Regions from separate parts of the Homo sapiens genome. Here region 1 is linked to region 2. The links are contacts of gene promoters, found by promoter capture Hi-C in blood cells and fetal thymus (Javierre and others, 2016). All regions are on one chromosome and are shown on one strand. Each heading gives the region's core, a stretch centred on a gene start or on the middle of the fragment in contact. The rest is flanking DNA. Distances are from core to core; before and after follow the strand shown.

What was found. Contacts are between HindIII fragments. The CHiCAGO score rates a contact against its expected background, and 5 or more counts as called.
Region 1: a contact is called between a fragment that was not itself captured here and the fragment with the promoter of FUS in region 2, in 4 of 17 cell types (M2 macrophages, M1 macrophages, M0 macrophages and 1 more). The highest score is 10.5, in M2 macrophages.

What each region holds. Positions count from the first base shown.
Region 1 is chr16:31,310,893-31,314,386 of GRCh38, forward strand. The region is part of intron 14 of ITGAM (integrin subunit alpha M); the gene reads left to right. Among named protein-coding and RNA genes, the nearest start is that of ITGAX, 43 kb to the right of the region's middle. The HindIII fragment of the contact is 5,360 bases long and covers 1-3,494 here.
Region 2 is chr16:31,178,695-31,182,103 of GRCh38, forward strand. FUS (FUS RNA binding protein) reads left to right here and starts at 1,445. Exons shown (of 15, transcript NM_004960.4): 1 at 1,445-1,533. The coding sequence starts at 1,521. RefSeq lists enhancers at 331-390, 682-1,442, 901-970, 1,443-2,204, 2,205-2,965 and 4 more and silencers at 1,131-1,200, 1,841-1,990, 2,111-2,160. The HindIII fragment of the contact is 6,651 bases long and covers 1,421-3,409 here.

The DNA.
Region 1 (3,494 bases), core at 450-2,949, 130 kb after region 2:
TGTTAGTTTTCCTTCTAACAGTCAGGACCTTCAGCTGCTGGAGATATAGACCAATGGAACAGAACTGAGCACTCAGAAATAGTGCCGCATATCTACAACTATCTGATCTTTGACAAACCTGACAAAAAGAAGAAATGGGGAAAGGATTCCCTATTTAATAAATGGTGCTGGGAAAACTGGCTGGCCATATGTAGAAAGCTGAAACTGGATCCCTTCCTTACACCGTATACAAAAATTAATTCAAGATGGATTAAAGACTTACATGTTAGTCCTAAAACCATAAAAACCCTAGAAGAAAACCTAGGCAATACCATTGAGGACATAGGCATGGGCAAGGACTTCATGTCTAAAACATCGAAAGCAATGGCAACAAAAGCCAAAATTGACAAATGGGATCTAATTAAACTAAAGAGCTGCTGCACAGCAAAAGAAACTACCATCAGAGTGAACAGGCAACCTACTGAATGGGAGAAAATTTTTGCAACCTACTCATCTGACAAAGGGGTAATATCCAGAATCTACAATGAACTCAAACAAATTTACAAGAAAAAAACAAACAACCCCATCAAAAAGTGGGTGAAGGATATGAACAGACACTTCTCAAAAGAAGACATTTATGCAGCCAAAAGACACATGAAAAAATGCTCATCATTACTGGCCATCAGAGAAATGCAAATCAAAACCACAATGAGATACCATCTCACACCAGTTAGAATGGCAATCATTAAAAAGTCAGGAAACAGCAGGTGTTGGAGAGGATGTGGAGAAATAGGAACACTTTTACACTGTTGGTGGGACTGTAAACTAGTTCAACCATTGTGGAAGTCAGTGTGGTGATTCCTCAGGGATCTAGAACTGGAAATACCATCTGACCCAGCCATCCCATTACTGGGTATATACCCAAAGGATTATACATCATGCTGCTATAAAGGCACATGCATACAAGTGTTTATTGCGGCACTATTCACAATAGCAAAGACTTGGAACCAACCCAAATGTTCAACAATGATAGACTGGATTAAGAAAGTGTGGCACATATACACCATGGAACACTACGCAGCCATAAAAAAGGATGAGTTCATGTCCTTTGTAGGGACATGGATGAAGCTGGAAACCATCATTCTCAGCAAACTATCGCAAGGACAAAAAACCAAACACTGCATGTTCTCACTCATAGGTGGGAATTGAACAATGAGAACACATGGACACAGGAAGGGGAACATCACACACCAGGGACTGTTGTGGGGTGGGGGGAGGGGGGAGGGATAGCATTAGGAGATATACCTAATGCTAAATGACGAGTTAATGGGTGCAGCACACCAACATGGCACATGTATACATATGTAACAAACCTGCACGTTGTGCATGTGTACCCTAAAACTTAAAGTATTATAATAATAAAAAAGAAAAAGAAAAGAAATCCAATGAATCAATTAATGCTATCAACAAAGAACATGCAAGAATGTAACATTACATGTAATTTTTGTTTTCAAAAAAGACACTAAAATGCCACTGCATTAAAATGTATTTATTATTTATTATTATTATTTTTGAGACAGGGTCTTGGTCTGTCATGCAGGCTGGAGTGAAGTGGTGCAATCATGGCTCACTGCAGCCTTGACCTCCCAGGCTCATGTGATCCGCCTGCCTCAGCCTCCTAAGTGTCTTTGACTGCAGGTGTATGCCACCATACCTGGCTAATATTTAAATTTCTTTTGCAGTGACAGGGTCTGTCTATGTTTCCCAGGCTGGTCTCCAACTCCTGGGCTCAAGTGATCTTCCCACCTTGGCCTCCCAAAGTGCTGGGACTACTGGTGTGAGCCACTGCACTCAGCCGGACTATAATTTATTCAGAACATCTTTAGTGTTCATTCCCAGAGATCTTGATCTGCTCAGTAATGCTTTCACAAGATCGATTATAGCCATCTTTTGCAGTGAATGCTTAGGCTGGTCCGTCCTCCTGTGGTAGTAGGGAGCAGTCTTTTTTTTTTTTTTTTTAAATCTTCATGTTTTTATTTATTTTTTCTTTTTTAAATTACACATTGGGCCAGGCACAGTGGCTCATGCCTGTAATCCCAGCACTTTGGGAGGCCGAGGCGGGCGGATCACGAGGTCAGGAGTTCAAGACCAGCCTTGCCAACATGGTGAAACCCCATCTCTACTAAAAATACAAAAATTAGCTGGGCTTGGTGGCGTGTGCCTGTAATCCCAGCTACTTGGGAGGCTGAGGCAGGAGAATTGCTTGAACCCAGGAGGCGGAGGTTGCAGTGAGCCAAGACTGCACCACTGCACGCCAGCCTGGCAACAGAGCGAGACTCCGTCTCAAAAAAAAAAATTATACGTTAAGTTCTGTGATACATGTGCAGAACATGTAGGTTTGTTACCTAGGTATACAAGTGCCATGGTGGTTTGCTGCACCCATCAACCCGTTGTCTAGGTTTTAAGCCTCACATGCATTAGGTATTTGTCCTAATGCTCTCCCTCCCCCTTGATCCCCACCCCTCAACAGGCTCCAGTGATGTTCCCCTCCCTGTGTCCATGTATTCTCATTGTTCAACTCCCACTTATGAGTGAGAGTATGTGGTGTTTGCTTTCCTGTTCCTGTGTTAGTTTGCTGAGAATGATGGTTTCCAGTTTCATCTATGTCCCTGCAAAGGACATGAACTCATTCTCTTTTATGGCTGCATAGTATTCCATGGTGTATATGTACCACATTTTCTTTATACAGTTTATCATTGATGGGCATTTAGGTTGGTTCCAAGTCTTTGCTATTGTAAATAGTGCTTCAGTAAAAATACATGTGCATGTGTCTTTATAGTAGAATGATTTATAATCCTTTGGGTATATACCCAGTAATGGGATTGCTGGGTCAAATGGTATTTCTGGTTTTAGATCCTTGAGGAATCGCCACACTGTCTTCTACAATGGTTGAACTGATTTACACTCCCACTAACAGTGTAAAAGCATTCTTATTTCTCCACATCCTCTCCAGCATCTGTTGTTTCCTGACTTTTTAATGATCATCATTTTAACTGGCATGAGATGGTATCTCATTGTGGTTTTGATTTGCATTTCTCTAATGACCAGTGATGAGCTTTTTTTTTTCATATGTTTGTTGGCCACATAAATGTCTTCTTTTGAGAAGTATCTGTTCATATCCTTTGCCCATTTTTTGATGGGGTTGTTTGTTTTTTTCTTGTAAATTTGTTTATGTTCCTTGTAGATTCTGGATATTAGACCTTTGTCAGATGGATAGATTGCAAAAATATTCTCTCATTCTGTAGGCTGCCTGTTCACTCTGATGATAGTTTCTTTTGCTGTGCAGAAGCTCTTTAGTTTAATTAGATCTCATTTGTCAATTTTGGCTTTTGTTGCAATTGCTTTTGGTGTTTTAGTAAGGAAGATTTTGCCCATGCCTATGCCCTGAATGGTACTGCCTAGGTTTTATTCTAGGGTTTTTATGGTTGTAAATTTTACATTTAAGTCTTTAATCC
Region 2 (3,409 bases), core at 195-2,694:
AATGCATGAATAAGGGTGGACTTCCTTTCTTTTGCTCTCACTGGAGAGTTGAACTCTCCTTCCAAAGGCGGTGGGGTGGATATTGGCATATTCAGGGCCTTTAGGGCTGAAGTCAAGGGCTTAGTGGGGCTTAATTTGTGGGCGGGCCCAGGGCATGGCCCTCATTGTTTCTCTAGAAAGACGTGTCCAACCCTCAAAGGACCTTCTGAAATCCCGCTGAAAGGTTAAGTTGGGAAGGAAAACCTGCATGCCTATGTATCAGGAATTAACGTCTTTTGTCTTGTTTTATTCAGTAGTTTCAAATTGCCTTCTCCAGGCAAGGCTGATGAAAGTGCAAGTTGCAAGTTAATTTGAATGTTTCTTTTTGCTTTTGCTCTCACAGGAAGTGAAAAGGCGACCAAACACTCTAGCATTCATGCCACCAAAAAGAGGAGTGTTTTGCAGTTACAAGACCTGGATTCGAATCACGACTCCTCTTAGCTGCCCTGTAATCAGGCACAATTACTTGGGTCTCTGAGTCTCACTTTCCTTATCTAGAAAACGGAGGTATCTTTACTTCCTTCGTAAGACTGATGACAAGGAAATTATCTGTGCATTTTGAAACCACTTAAGCCTTGTACACGTTTTATTTCTGGGATCGCCCTGGTAGGGCTTCAGAAAAATAAAAAGGAGGTCCCTGAGAAAAGGCTGGGTACCGTACATCTGAGGTCAACCCTCTCTGGTCCCAAGGATGGCCTGGGCTGTTCCGCCCCGTGGCTCCCCAGGGGCAAAGCCATGAGGATCCGGGTGAGAGCCCAGTGCTGGACGAGCCCGGGGCCCAGGGGTCCCGGCCGAAATCCCTGCTGTCTTTCAGGTCAAACGTCATAATCCCCGAACCCCAGAAAGGCCGAAAGGCAAGGCAACCCTGAAAGACGACGAAGTCAACCTCAGGGCGCAGGAGAGGGAGGGCCAGTGTGCTGCCGACGAGGGAGGCTGGAGCCGCGGGGACGAGGCGCCCCATACAGCGGCAAGAGGGTGGAGGGCAGGAGCTCGCCATCCTGGGTGAAAGCGGGGCCCAGCGAAGGGGCCCGGCCACAGGAATCTCGGTTCCACCCCGCTACTCCCGGCTGTGACTCCAGTTTCGTCCCCAGCCGCCGGGACCGCCCCCTCGCCCCGCCCCCAGCGGGCACTCAGGCCGTACCACTGTGCCTTCATGGGGGTGGAGATAGATCGTGGGCTAGTCCTGCCGAGGAGAGAGGGGTTCTTCCTCAAAAAATATGATTATGTATAGTATTCGCATGATTCTAGTTAACTTGTTTCCCTTCTGCCTGCTCGGACCCTCTACCTGCCCTACGAAGGGGGCGGAGTGCGTTCCTGCCTCCCCCTGCTCTTCCGCGTTTGGTGCGCGCCTGCGCGGTGCGTAGGCGGCGGAGCGTACTTAAGCTTCGACGCAGGAGGCGGGGCTGCTCAGTCCTCCAGGCGTCGGTACTCAGCGGTGTTGGAACTTCGTTGCTTGCTTGCCTGTGCGCGCGTGCGCGGACATGGCCTCAAACGGTAGGTAAGGGCGCGAGGCGACGGCGGCGGCGCACCCGGCCGAGGCCTCCCAGCTGGGCTTTTCGTTTTCAGTGGGACCGGGGCGGCGATCCCGTGTGGGATTTTTTGGCGCCCCTGTGGCGGGAAGCCGCGGAGAAGAGTAACTGGAGGAGGCTGGTGTCGCCATTTTGTTTCGCTCCTCTGGCCCTCGCGCGCGGGGCGGGAAGTCTTTTCTTTGCAGTCCGTTTGCTTGGGGTGGGCGTTGGGAGGGACGCTTCTTAGGGGTTTGAAGCGTCAGGTGAGGGTGGAAAACGCCCATTCTCCGTGGCCTCGCCTCCCCCAACTCCCGGCCCCGCGCTCGAGCCCGCTTTGTCGCAGTGCTGCATCCGGGCACTCGCGGCGCGCACGCGCTCTGCGGGCCCCTCCCCCTTCGCGGCGCGGGTACCCCTTCCCCGCCTCGTGTTGGTTCAGCTTTCTGTCGCGAGACCCTTCGCGGAAGACTCGGCGGCGCGCGTCCGGTGTGAGCCTTGTCCCTCAGTGGTCCTTCGCGAATGGGCGGGATCGCTCCGTTCCCGCCTGGGTTGCCACGCGGCTGGGGGCGGAGGCTCGGGATCGGGGCCGCCCTCTAGCTTAACGGTTTGGCGGCGGTGGTCAGGGTTCGACCAACGGACTTGGGGACGGCCCGAGAGTTTTTCCCGCCTAAATTTCTTTCTTTTTTTTTTTGGAGACACGGTCTTCCTCTGTCGCCCAGGCTGGAGTGCAGTGGTGCGATCTCAGATCACTGCAACGTCCACCTCCTGGGTTCAAGTGATTCTTCTGCCTCAGCCTCCTGAGTAGTTGGGATTATAGGCGCCCGCCACCACAGCCCGGCTAATTTTTGTGTTTCTTAGTAGGGGCGGGGTTTCACCATGTTGGTCAGGCTGGTCTCGAACTGCTGACCTCAGGTGATCCGCCCGCCTGGGCCTCCCGAAGTGTCGGGATTACAGACGTAAGCCAACCACGCCTGGTCTAAATTTCTTTTTTCTGAGATAGGGACGGAGAAGAACGGCCGCCCGAGGCCACACCCTCTCCTGGTCCTCTTTCCCTTTTCCTGCGGGGGAAGCGCCGCGTTTCCTGTGCTGGGAGGATGAGTTGATCTTGTTCGTGTATCTTAAGTGGGGCTTTTCAAAAGCGCTTTTGTTGCTTTTTGTTCGCTGGGGGAAGGCAGGGTAGGTGAGAAAACGGAACCATCTGGAGTCCCAGGGCTGGGGACTCGAGTACCTGTTGACTTTCGCCTCCTAAGGCGAGCAGTTGCATGATCTCTGTCATTTGGGGTCCAAGGGCTCTTTTGATTCTCTGGCTTTGCACTAAAAAGCCCACTTCATCTCCGGGATTGGTCAAAGAGTGAAGAATGGCCTTTTTTGAGACTTTCTTATTCTGTGGGTCTGGGCTGAGAGAGCAGAGGCCACAATCTGAACACTGTTCGAATTCAAACCTGTGCCACTTTGGTAGTTCTGCGACGTTGGGAGAGTTAGTCTCTTGACTCCTGGCGATAATGGCTTTCTCATAGAGTGGATGAAACGAATGCGCGATGTTTTAGAGCAATCACTGACATGAATTGGGCTTGCAGAAAATTGTGGATGTCCACCAAGACCTTGGTTTTTCCAATGGTTAAGGCTTCTGGGACTCTGTAGAAACTTGCATTTTCTTCACTTTTTCTTTATTGTAAGAACACTTGGCTGATAACGCCAGTTTGTTCCTCTTCTCAACCAGTGTCTCATGGAGGAATTTTATGCCCTTTGTTGCAACATGGTCCTATTTTTATTTTTTTTTTTGAGATGGAGTCTTGCTCTGTTGCCAGGCTGGAGTGCAATGGCTCACTGCAACCTCTGCCTCCCGGGTTCAAGCGATTCTCCTG